Linked DNA regions of Homo sapiens: all the other regions are linked to region 3. The links are contacts of gene promoters, found by promoter capture Hi-C in blood cells and fetal thymus (Javierre and others, 2016). All regions are on one chromosome and are shown on one strand. Each heading gives the region's core, a stretch centred on a gene start or on the middle of the fragment in contact. The rest is flanking DNA. Distances are from core to core; before and after follow the strand shown. Region 1 overlaps HIBADH (3-hydroxyisobutyrate dehydrogenase). Region 2 overlaps HIBADH (3-hydroxyisobutyrate dehydrogenase). Region 3 holds the start of HOXA11 (homeobox A11).

Region 1 (4,116 bases), core at 31-2,530, 460 kb before region 3:
ATTCTATTACCATAAGGCCAAGACACGACTTGGGATGAGATGGAAAAGTATGTGTGAAACTCTGAAACTTTTTGCCACAATAGTGCCCTGAAGGGTGGGTTTAAAGGTTAAAAAATTCAGCGTATATTTGAGTTGACTCATACATTTTTAAGGACGGGTGTCCATTTCCTCCCTCTGTGTTACTATATCAAGTCAAGCTGATGAAGTGAGAGCCAAAGAAAACAAGCCCATCCCCCAACACCCCACCAAGATTGCAGAAATGCTGGTTAGTTGATTTCTAATGTCAGCTGTTCTTTCAGTGAGAGATTTGCAGGGAAGAAAATCAGATGTTGTTTTGAAGAAGTGCTTTTGTTTTTTTTGAAAGCAAAAACTGAGAATTTATTGTTTCATGTATTGGAAGAGTTGGGGAGTGGCCTGACCTCTGGCAGAGCTGAATTTAGTGACATAGATACAGCCAGATTCTTTTCTTTTCTCTTTGCTTCTGGAGTCTGCTTTTCTCCATCAGGCTCCTCTCTCCCTTCAAGGTGCAAGATGGCCACCTGCCGTTCCAGGTGAAGAAGTATTTTAGAATATTATGACCCTGGAGGCTTTTCTTCAAGCTTTAGTAAAACCGTAGTCATGCACCTCATAAGGATGTTTTGGTCATGGACTGCATACATAAAGGTGGTCCCATAGGATTATAATAGAGTATTTTTACTGTACCTTTTGTATGTATAGATCATTAAATGTACAAATTCTTACATTATGTTACAGTTGCCTACAGTATTCAGTACATTAACGTTGCTGTACAGGTTTGTAGCCTAGAAGAAATACACTACACCATGAAGGTCTGTAAGTGCTCTCTCTGATGTTCGTGCAACATGAAATAGCCTAACAACTGTCAACCTTATTAAAATAATGATTCAGAAACTGTGATTAGGTATAGAGTTTATTCAGGCCCAAAAGGTGGAAAATGGCCACCTGGAAGCATAAATTCAAGTTGCCTTGAATATATACGATTAGCAGATGTTACAAGTGATTTTGTTTGTTCATTTCTTTTGAGACAGGGTCTCTCTCTGTCACCCAGGCTGGAATGCAGTGGCGGGATCATGGCTCACTGCAGCCTCAACCTCCCAGACTCAAGTGATCCTCCCGCCCCTGCCTCCCAAGTAGTTGGGACCACAGGTGTGCACCACCATGCCCAGCCAATTTTTGTATTTTTGTAGAGACAGGGTTTTGCTTTGTTGCCCAGGCTGGGCTTGAACTCCTGGGCTCAAGTGATCAGCCCACCTTGGCCTCCCAAAGTGTTGGGATTACAGGTGTGAGCCATTGCACCTGGCCCCAGGTGGGTTTTTAAGGAAAAAAGAAGAGGCAGTTCCTAAGTTGTTTAACAAGAGTTTACATTAACATAAATTATTAATTGACTGTACATTGTTCTTTGTATTCCAAATTCCAGGAATATGACAATAATAAGGGAGGCAGCTAGTCAGGAACAAAAATGCCTTTAAGCAATTGCCACTGGGCACGGAGGGTGGCGGTGACCAAAGTCCTATGCTTACGTCTCTCTGGGCCTGATAAATTTTGCAAACCTCACATAGTTCAGACTACTTCAAGTTATTTTTCTTTTCTCACAACGCATTTCTCAGAACGTATCTCTTTTGCTTGACTGTACGTGGATTATTAGGGAAATAAAAACTTTGATAAGTTTAATATGTTTTACAGGACTACTTAATAGCTTGTTTATGCCTTTAAGTGTTAACCTATTCTGATAAGGCATTTATAATTGGTTGAACTTGTTATTTGTGGTCATTTTCATAAAATATGTGGACGTTTCCGTATCCCTTTATTTTTTTTAATTTAAAAACAAAATCAGAGGGAAGTTTTTATTATATAAGCATTTATTAAAATAAGTTGGGCAGAATGATGGACTCAGAAAATGAGTGTGTTTGTAGGGCAGCCTCCAAGGCCCACAGGAAGCTTGCAGTTGATGTTTTTTAACTTTTAGGTTCGGAGGTAATTGTGCAGGTTTGTTATATAGGTAAATTGCATGTCACAGGAGTTTGGTGTACAGATTATTTTGCCACCCAGGTAATAAGCACGGTACCTGGCAGGTAGTTTTTTGATCCTCACCCTCTGTCCCTCCCTCCCCCCTCAGGTAGTCTCAAGTGTCTGTTGTTCCTTTCTTTGTGTCTGTGTGTACTCAGTGTTTTGCTCCCACTTATAAGTGAGAATGTGTGGTATTTGGTTTCTTTCCCTGGATTAGTTTGCTTAGGATAATGGCCTCCAGCTCTATCCATGTTGCTGTAAAGGCCATGATCTCATTCTTTTTTATGGCTGCATAGTATTTCATGGTGTATATGTACCACATTTTCTTTATTCAGTCTACCATTGATGGGCATTTAGGTTGGTTCCATGTCTTTGCTATTGTGAATAGTGCTATGATGAACATACGGGTGCATGTGTCTTTATGGTGAACTGTTTATATTCCTTTGGGTATGTACCCAATAATGGGATTGCTGGGTTGAATGGTAATTCTGCTTTGAGTTCTTTGAGGAATCACCACACTGCTTCCACAGTAACTCATCTAATTTGCATTCCCACCAGCGGTGTATAAATGTTCCTTTTTCTCTGCAACCTTGCCAGCATCTCTTATTTTTTGACTTTTTAATAACAGCCATTCTGAGTGGTGTGATATTGTATCTCATTGTGGTTTTGATTTGCATTTCACTAATGATTAGTGATGTTCAGCATTTTTTCATGTTTGTTGACTGTGTGTATGTCTTTTTTTGAAAAGTGTCTGTTCATGTCCTTTGCCTACTCTTTAATGCAGTTGTTTGGTTTTTGCTTGTTGATTTAAGTTCCCTATAGATTCTGAGTAGTAGACCTTTGTGGGATGCATAGTTTGCAAACATTTTCTCCCATTAGGTAGGTTGTCTGTTTATTTTTTGTTGATAGTTTCTTTTGCTGTGCAGAAGCTGTTTAGTTTAATTAGGTCTCATTTGTCAATTTTTGTTTTTGTTGCAGTTGCTTTTGATATCTTTGTCTTGAAATCTTTTCCAGGTCCTATGTCTAGAAACAGTATTTCCTAGGTTATCTTCCAGGTTTTTATAGCTTTAGGTTTTACATTTAAGTCTTTAATCCACCTTGAGTTGAATTTTGAGTATGGTATAAGGAGGGTTCCAGTTTCAGTTTTTTGCATATGGCTAGCCAGTTATTCCAGCACCATTTATTGAATAGGGAGTCCTTTCCTTATTGCTTGTTTTTTTTTTTTTTTTTTTTTTGACTTTGCCAAAGATCAGATGGGTATAGGTGTGCAGCATTGTTTCTGTACTTTATTCTGTCCCATTGGTCTGTGTGCCTGTTTTGTTCCAGTACCATGCTATTTTGGTTACTGTAGCCCTATAGAAAAGTTTGAGTTTGAAGTTGGGTAACATGATGCCTCCAGCTTTGTTCTTTTTGCTTAGGAGTGCCTTGACTATTTGAGCTCCTTTTTTGGTTCCATATAAATTTTAAAATAGTTTTTTTCTAATTCTGTGAAGAATGTCATTGGTAGTTTGATAGGAATAGCCCTGAATCTATAAATTGCTTTGGGCAATATGGCCATTTTAACAAAATTGATTATTCCTATCCATGAGCATGGAATGTTTGTGTCATCTCTGATTTCTTTGAGTAGTATTTTGTAATTCTTGTTATAGAGATCTTTCACCTCTCTGGTTAGCTGTATTCCTGTATTTTATTCTTTTTGTGGCTATTGTGAATGGGATTGTGTTCTTGATTGGGCTCTTGGCTTGATTGTTGTTGGTATATAGGAATGTTAGTTATTTTTGCGCATTGATTTTGTGTCTTGGGACTTGGCTGAAGTTGTTTATCAGCTTAAGGAGATTTGGGCTGAGACTATGGGGTTTTCTAGATACAGCGTCATGTCTGCACACAGGGATAGGTTGACTTCCTCTCTTCATATTTGAATGCCTTTTATTTCTTGCCTGATTGCTCTGGCCAGGACTTAAGTACTATGTTGAATAGGAGTGATGAGATAGGGCATCCTTGCCTGGTTCCGGTTTTCAAGAAGAGTGCTTCTACCTTTTGCCCATTCAGTATGATGTTGGCTGTGGGTTTGTTATAGCTTATCCCTTTATT
Region 2 (4,384 bases), core at 1,552-4,051, 400 kb before region 3:
CTTGAAACCCAGTTGCCAAACTTCCTGAGAGCTCATGTAGACTATCAGTTGGAATGGAAAGAATGTTCCTTTTTGTGTTTTCCTTCTGTTTTTGCATATTTGCAACAAGGGCATATTTGCTTTTGTAGAAATTGGTGATAATCTAATAATTTATATTGAATGTATTGTTCATAGGGAAAAAACATTTTTAAAGAATAAATTGCAGAGAAAATGCGTGAACTGATGTGAAGTCAGTTTGTTAAGTCACCTCCCCCTTCACGTCCAGGTGGACTGAATTTATGTGGAGGAATTACATAACCACCTATCTTCTTAGATTAGAATAGAATAGCATGGAAGAAGGCCAGCTTTCTGCCTGCTGTTAATAAAGTTTACATCTGTGTTCTTAAATTGAGAATTTTGCCATCTTATAACATTTTCTCCAAAAAAATTTAAAAAAAAATCATGTACCTAGAAAATACAACCATTTTTAAGGGCAGGAAAACTCTAGATTCATTTTTCAGTAAACAGAAAACTTAAATGTTACAAGCCCCAAACTCACTCACTTTTAGGACAACCAAAATCTGGTGAAACCAATTTATACACTTCCTTTGAGTGTGTGTCATTGACATTTGATCTGTTTCTCTTTGAATCGTCTTACAAATGCTTTTTACTTTTTCATTCTTTTCCTAATTATTTCTCATATCATCCCAGTGAATTAGACAGGGTAAATAATATCTTCATTTTGATGAGATGAAATGTGAGCCACAATGAAGGCAAATATATGTAGTGTCTCCTGGCTAATCTGGGGCCACCCAGTCTTTGTGGCAGTCAGGATGGTTCTGAAAAGTTATTATGTTTAACCCTCAGATTGGCAAAGATACAAAAGTCTAGTCCTAGCATAGATAGGGAAGATGTGTAGCCTCATAGACTGCTTTGGTGATGTAAGTTATTTGAACCAACTCAGAGAACAGTTTGGTAGTATGCATCAAAAACTTTTATACATACACACACGTGTGTGCATATACATACACATACATACACACGTGTGTATATATGCACACGTGTGTGCACATGCAAATATACACACGTACTTTTATACATACATATGTGTGTGCATATATACACACATATATACATATATAAAAAACATGCACACCTGTATGTATGTATAAAAGCTCTATATTTATAGGTCTATAAATTTACCTAGTAATTTATGTATGTATATTTTTACAAATATATATAATTTACCAAGTAATTCCACTTTAAGAATTTATCCCCCCAGAGTAAGAATATGTGTAAAGATTTAACTATAAGAATGTACTTTTAGCATTGTTAAGAACATTGGTTCTCAGTGTACCCTCCATGGATCCCTAGGAGGCCATAAAGTGAAAATTATTTTTCTAATAATAGAGTAATAATACTCATGGTGCAAAAGGAATGGTGAGTAAAACTGCTGCCCTTAGCAAGAGTCAAGACAGTGGTATCGTATTCTTAACAGCTACACATAAAGCATTCCACTTAATGTTCCTTGATGAAGCATTAAAAATTATTAATTTTATTAAATCTTAATGTTGAGTACATGTCTTTTGTATATTTTATTTGATGTAATGGAAAATATGCCCCAAACGATCCTGCTACAGTTGGTATTGGGGTTGTCTTGAGAAGTATTTAGGTGATTGTTTGAGTTGCCAGCTATACTATCTGCATTTTTGTGGAACACCATTTTTATTTCAAAGAATAACAAGACATCTTATAGAAAGAAAAAAGTGAGTCTTACTTCAAGGAAAGCAACTGAGGGTATTTGTAACCAATGATAAAACTGGATCTTTCAAGTAAAAATTAGAATTTTGGAAAACTTGTATCTGACCATATGAACTTAACAACTTTCTAATCCTTAAAGACTTTTGTGAAAAGATTGTTGGTGCAGTTAAAGAATGTGAGTTTCTGTTACTGTATACTGGGAATTTAGAATATCTGCATAACTAACTGAACGAGTATTTTCCAATTGACCGTTGTATGATGTTACCAAATTATGCCTAGATAAAAGATGCAAAGTACAAAATAGAGGGATAGATTTTAATGTAACATAGTATAAAAAGTTCTTTCCACATTGCAACAAGCCTTTAAGAAACCACCATTTGTCAGGTTTGGGTTTAATATAAAAGAAGGATATCCACAATTATCTGAAAAAGTTATTAAAATTCTCTCTTACTTTTTTAAACTGCATTATCTATATGAGGTCAGCTTTTCTTAATTTCAACCAAAACAACATATATCTGCTTCTGCATTTAATCTACTATGAAAATCCAGCTGTCTTCTATTAAGCCAGAACTAAAGAGATTTGAAAAATTGTCAAGCAGTGCTACTCTTCTCACTAAATTTTGTTGCTTGTTATTTTTCCCAAAATATGTTAATATGTATTAGGTTTATGATTGATGTTTTTAAGTCAATTGAGAAATGTTTTTAAAATTTGTTTTGATTTCTAATACAGTAAATACCAATAGATATAATCCACATAAACAAAAGCTTTTGTGTCCTCAAAAATATTTAAAGAGTATAAAGAAATCCTAAGACCAAAAAGTTTAAGAACCACTGGTTTAAAATGATGAGGCCTTGGAAATAACCCAAATGTCCAATAAGGGAGAATTGATTAAATTACATATTATGAATCAGTGATGTAGATAAATATCTGACATGAAAATATTTTACAGTGTTGTGTTAGTAGTAAAAGCAGGTTTTGAAACAATACATGAATTAATGTCACAAAAAGTTATTAATATATAATATGCTTAATATTGTATTCTATAATACCTAGGTATTAGGTAGCTTTTTCTTGAAAAGGAAGGTAGAAAAAGTTTTTTTGAAGTTGTCATAACAGTATTAGACTGCATCATGAGATACTGTTTCCTTCTGGCTTTTGGTGAAGGTATTTGCTTTTTACTAGTTTTGTAACATTGGCCAAGTCTGAATTTTGTTCTCCTTACTTTAAAAATCAGATCAAGGTTGTTAACAGAGTAAGCTGTTCAATGTATTTTACTTCCCTCTAACATCTCCTTAGCTTTTAAAATTCTGTATAATAGCGGTGTATCTGTGACAATTAATGCTTAATAAAGCTTCCCTTGAAGTCAAAATAAGGGTCTTTTGAAAACAAGAACACATCTTGTAAATATCATCTTATTTCTGTGAAAAAAAAGTTTTGTGGAATAATAGCTGTAATACAGAAAGTAAATTATCATCATGCAGATGCTTATTGGTAAAGATAGGTAAGGTAGCTTATGATTATACACTAAGTACTAGGCCAGGTATTTTGTAAAATTGCTGAGTACTTTACAGACATCATCTCATTTAATCCTCACAAAAGCCCTGTGAGGTCAGTACTGTTGTTATCCCCATTTTACTGATGTGGAAATGGTCTCATAAAGAGGTTAAAGAATTTGTCCTACTCATTTGTAGAGGTAGAGCTAATTCAGACATGAGCCTGGCTGACTGTAAGGTTTGTGCTTTTTATCCATATAATAATCTCCAACCAAAGAGAAATGAAAAACCACCATACGGACACAAAGAGCAGCTCGCCCAGCTTCTTACTCTGGGAAACCAGATTGATTTTGAGGTGGGGAGAAGCCTGGATAAAGTCCCATACACTTAGATCTCTAGGCCATAAAGATTCATTCCACAGCATTCAATTAGAATAATGTAAATATGTAAAACCCAGTGCCTGGTATATCATAATTATTTAGTAAGTGGGAGTGAACTATTACAATAATTCTACGACTAAGCCAGAAATTAGGTTCCTGTTCATAAAATAGGAAAAGAAAAAAATTCCCATAGTCCCACAATCCCTTACTTGAAACTCTTGGAGTCATGTGAGTTTTGTTTTAGAATTATAGCAAGGTAATATGTATATTTACCATATGCTATGTAACATCCCCAGCAGAGACCAGGGCAGCCCCCTGTAATCAAAACACCAACAATTTCTGCAATGAAATATATGAATATTCACACTAAGCAGAAGAAATGAAGACTATAGCCTTAAATCAGTTCAGGTAAAGTTTTGCTGCCAAATGAGTGAAGAAAAACTCTTTTGCATTTCAGAGCTTATTGTATAAGAGTTGAAGGGAAGGGATTGTGTACTTGTAAAGCATACAACAACATTTCAAGGAGAATAAAGAAGCAATTACTTTACTAAGTTGAATAGACAAGTGATAGTTCTGTTCAAAAGAGACTGTTAATCCTAAGTCAAAGCATGAAGTCTTTTTGGCCTCTGATTTCAAATGCTAATAATTACATCCAAAGAGAGAAAACAAGCATCTCTTATTTTATCTTCTTTCAAATAAGTATGCGTCACTTTAAATGAAGTTGGGGACTAAAATCAAGTACTATATTTTTTTTCTAGAGGATCTGTGTT
Region 3 (4,231 bases), core at 1,356-3,855:
TGTTTTCGGTTTTCCTAGACGCCCCCGGGTTCAATTATGGTCTTAAAAGCCCTAATACAAGTGCAAGAATTTGTTTGCCTTCACCCAGGGGCGGGGCGAGCCCCGCAATGGTGGCGCCTTTGTTATGGCAAAGTCACTGAAACCCTTCATGCATTCCTTTTGTTCGAAGGTAGGGGTGGCGTGGACTGGGTGGGCTGCAGAGAGAGAGCTTGGGATAGCCAAAATCAAGCCAGGGAACAGCTCGAATACCGCTGTTTGAAACCTCTCCTTCTGTCTTTTATATTCTGTCTCTAAAAAAGAGATGCTGTGGAGAAACAAACATTTTGCCTTGTTGGTCACTGCTGGAAATAGAAGTTTTTTCGCTGCAGGGCAATTCTGTAAATGTGCTTCCCAGCTTTAGGAGGTCTGAGGCTACTCTTCTCCAATAACCTTCCTTCCCACTGGACCTTCTCACTCACAGCACTGCTGCCCTCTGGACAAGCCACAGTGGACAAATATGTCAAGCTGAAGATGCACAAATAATTTCAAGTTCAGTTCTCAGGGATTCAAAGGACATGAAAATTCTTGTAGCAAATCTTGAATAAAGAGTTCATTAAACCAATGTGTCCAAGTAGCTTGATTTGTGATAAGCAATCCTTGTAAAGGTGGTGGTGGGGGGAGGTGGAGAGCCACATAAACATTAATGCTAATAAATTAGTTTACTCGACTACAGAGTAATTACTTCATATTATTGATATTTACAGCAGGTATTCAAATGCAATGGTAGGCCATTATTTGGAGAAAATACATAATAAGAATATTTCTTTTCCAGTGCAATACACGATTAGATTTGTTATTGAGTCAGTTACAGTCAGCTCAGCAATAAATAAATAAATCGATGTTGACACTTAAATACCAAAGATCTTAGAGTTTATACTCTAAATCTCCCCAAGATATGTAAATAACTTTGGCTATTTCCTGGAGAGGGAAAAACAAAAGGTTATCTTTTTACATATTTTTTTATTTTCCTTCAGCAACATCCCAGATCCTTCCAAGAAGAGAGTTGTTGGGAGGCCTCAGGTCTGGGCCCTTCTCAGCTCCTGGCTCTGCCTGGCTGCTCTGTGCTCTGTGTCCTCTCCTTTCTTTCGCTTCCTCCAAACATTGCTCCTTCAATCCTGCAGGATGGGGAGCATATTTTGCCTTCTTAATTTATTTTTTTTCCTCTTCTCAAGAAAGCTAGACTCAGAGTATTGCTATGGCCTCTCTCTATCCTTAGCACAAACCTAGCTTTTTAAAGACATCCCTGTTTCCCCAGGTGCAGGGAGTTCGGGAAGCACCTCTCCTTTCTCTGGTATTGTATTCCTCCTGTGGAATGAGCAGTAGGAAAGGCACAGAGCTCTCTGAGTTTTTGCCCTGCACATCCCTTGCTTTCACTCTCACACATTGCAAGGAAGGAGAGTAGGAGAGTAGGTGGGTTACCCCTTTCTCAGCCACCTCTCCTTGGCCCTCAGCCCGTCCTTTCCACCTCCATTCTCCCCACACCCCTGGAGCTCTGTAAGCAGCCTGATGGGCCCCCCACGAAGATGCAGCATACCCAGGAGAAGTCTCCTCGGATGTCAGCGCCTCTAAAGCAGCCCAAGGCTTGCCTCAATTGCATGGTTTCCCGAGTCCTCAGCTCCAGAAGACCAGGCAGATGGGTGGACCGGTGAGCAGCAGGGCAGCCCCTGTGCCTCTGTCTCTGCCGAGTCACTCCGAAGCCCGGCAGGCAGCGAGGAGGAGGGAGTTTCTCCAAGGACAGAAGGTGGGATGAAGAGGTAGGCAGGGAAGATGAGGGGAGAGGTGGATCCCGGGTAAGACGAAGGCCCTTCCGGGCCCTGCGGATCAGTGACAAACCGCGGGGAGAAGCCGTTCTGGCTGTTGGCGGTTTAGGGACGGAAGGCACTAAAGCGCTTCGGAAGTGACCATGAATGAGAGAGTGTAATCAAGTCACCGTGCAAATCGGACAAGCCACCAGGCAGGCACATCCACGGCTTCAAACTCTGGCCCCGAAGGGGTTCCGGCTAGGGTCGGAGGCAGAGGCGCTTCCCAGAGCAAGTCTATGGGAGGGGGACTGCGAAGAAGGGGGTGCAAATGCGAGACTCCAGGAGAACAGACTCCGAGACCACAGGCCACACAGCGACGGACTCCCACCTGGCTATCCCCAGTCCAGGGCATCCCTCACCCACCCGGGGAGCTGCGGGTGGGAGGTGGGGACGAGAGTTGAGCTCTCACCGCCCTCTGCACACTCGAGAACGAGGACCCTGCAATTGAGCACAAGCATGCTGCATGGGGGCGCACCCCAGCCTCTCCGCGCGCGCCGGGAGGCCCCCCAGCCAACATGAGTTACACCGGCGATTACGTGCTTTCGGTGAGAACACCGAGTGACGATCTGTTGCTTCCCCTGAGGTGGCTACAAAGAAAGGAAGCCGGGAGGGAGGGGAGAGGAGGAAAAAAAAAAAAGGAAAGGGGGGGGGAAAAGGCCCGGACTAGCTAGCAGCTTGTCAATTTCAACATCGGGTCACATGACCAGCACCTCCCTGCTAAGGATGGGGATAGATTTCCACGTCAGCTTACGTCTCCAAATTTCTACTTCACGGATCCGCTTCAAAGAGGCAGCTGCAGTGGAGAATCATGTTAAGCTCGGCTACTGCGGAGAGCCCAAGGTAGCCCAATAATGGATTTTGATGAGCGTGGTCCCTGCTCCTCTAACATGTATTTGCCAAGTTGTACTTACTACGTCTCGGGTCCAGATTTCTCCAGCCTCCCTTCTTTTCTGCCCCAGACCCCGTCTTCGCGCCCAATGACATACTCCTACTCCTCCAACCTGCCCCAGGTCCAACCCGTGCGCGAAGTGACCTTCAGAGAGTACGCCATTGAGCCCGCCACTAAATGGCACCCCCGCGGCAATCTGGCCCACTGCTACTCCGCGGAGGAGCTCGTGCACAGAGACTGCCTGCAGGCGCCCAGCGCGGCCGGCGTGCCTGGCGACGTGCTGGCCAAGAGCTCGGCCAACGTCTACCACCACCCCACCCCCGCAGTCTCGTCCAATTTCTATAGCACCGTGGGCAGGAACGGCGTCCTGCCACAGGCTTTCGACCAGTTTTTCGAGACAGCCTACGGCACCCCGGAAAACCTCGCCTCCTCCGACTACCCCGGGGACAAGAGCGCCGAGAAGGGGCCCCCGGCGGCCACGGCGACCTCCGCGGCGGCGGCGGCGGCTGCAACGGGCGCGCCGGCAACTTCAAGTTCGGACAGCGGCGGCGGCGGCGGCTGCCGGGAGACGGCGGCGGCAGCAGAGGAGAAAGAGCGGCGGCGGCGCCCCGAGAGCAGCAGCAGCCCCGAGTCGTCTTCCGGCCACACTGAGGACAAGGCCGGCGGCTCCAGTACGTATAAAGGCAGCGCCCTGCGCTTTATGAAAGGGGAGTTGGAAATCTAGCGCAGCACCGCTGTTAAATTTTTATATGCTGTTTTATAAGCATATAAGGTTTATGAAGGGCCTTTAGGTTTCCCCCAACAAAACTTTGTTATAAAAGGCGGGATCACGTGGCGAGTGCTGAAATTGGCCGTGAAATACCCACCGGCCAAGGCATGCCTGCAAAAAAAAACAACTCCCCTTTTCCCTTTTTTCCCTTCTCAGCTCCCAAGCCCAGCAGCTCGACCCCGCTCGGGGCCAGCTCCAGGCTGGGGAGCCGGAGGTGGGCGCCTGTAAATTCCCCCTGCAAGGGCTTCGGGAGCTTTTGATAGCGAGGTAATCCGGAGATTTTTATAAAAGCCATGTGTTGCGCCGGGACTCCAGTCCCGGCCGGGATTCAAAGGCGTCGCTGTTTAACGACGGCGCTAGGAGCGCGTTTAACAGATAAAGTAGCCCGCTTAGCTCTAGCAATATATTAAAAGAACAAATTAACCCAAAGTTGGCCTTTTTGTCCAAAGGAAGCCATTTTCCTCTGGCGTGGTGGCAATTACGTGCCTCCTTCTGCCCAACTGCATGTTATTCACAATTGTTATTCAATCTGTCAAAAGCGATTTTTTTTTTGTCTTGTGGGTCTTTTTTTTTTTTTTTTTTTTTTTTTTAAAGGGGGAGCAAGTAGAGCCTGCCCGCAGCTTCGGGAAGCCCCCTTTCCCTTCACCCTACCTAAGATAGAGCCGCTGCTCTGCCGTGTGCAGGATGGCCGTGTGGCCGTGGTGCTCAGCGAAGGCCTAGGGTAGGGGGCTT

What was found. The method cuts DNA at HindIII sites, captures the fragments that hold promoters and counts their contacts. A CHiCAGO score of 5 or more calls a contact.
Region 1: a contact is called between a fragment that was not itself captured here and the fragment with the promoter of HOXA11 in region 3, in 1 of 17 cell types (endothelial precursors). The highest score is 5.0, in endothelial precursors.
Region 2: a fragment that was not itself captured here is called in contact with the fragment with the promoter of HOXA11 in region 3 in 1 of 17 cell types (M0 macrophages); the score reaches 5.2 in M0 macrophages.

Annotation. Positions count from the first base shown.
Region 1 is chr7:27,637,453-27,641,568 of GRCh38, reverse strand. The region is part of intron 2 of HIBADH (3-hydroxyisobutyrate dehydrogenase); the gene reads left to right. Among named protein-coding and RNA genes, the nearest start is that of HIBADH, 23 kb to the left of the region's middle. The HindIII fragment of the contact is 1,357 bases long and covers 602-1,958 here.
Region 2 is chr7:27,581,897-27,586,280 of GRCh38, reverse strand. The region is part of intron 4 of HIBADH (3-hydroxyisobutyrate dehydrogenase); the gene reads left to right. Among named protein-coding and RNA genes, the nearest start is that of TSL, 32 kb to the left of the region's middle. The HindIII fragment of the contact is 587 bases long and covers 2,508-3,094 here.
Region 3 is chr7:27,183,606-27,187,836 of GRCh38, reverse strand. It overlaps HOXA11 (homeobox A11), which reads left to right and starts at 2,605. Exons shown (of 2, transcript NM_005523.6): 1 at 2,605-3,401. The coding sequence starts at 2,693. It overlaps HOXA11-AS (HOXA11 antisense RNA), which reads right to left and starts at 2,429. Exons shown (of 2, transcript NR_002795.2): 1 at 1,574-2,429. RefSeq lists enhancers at 1,478-2,359, 3,242-4,123, 4,124-4,231. The HindIII fragment of the contact is 8,872 bases long and covers 1-4,231 here.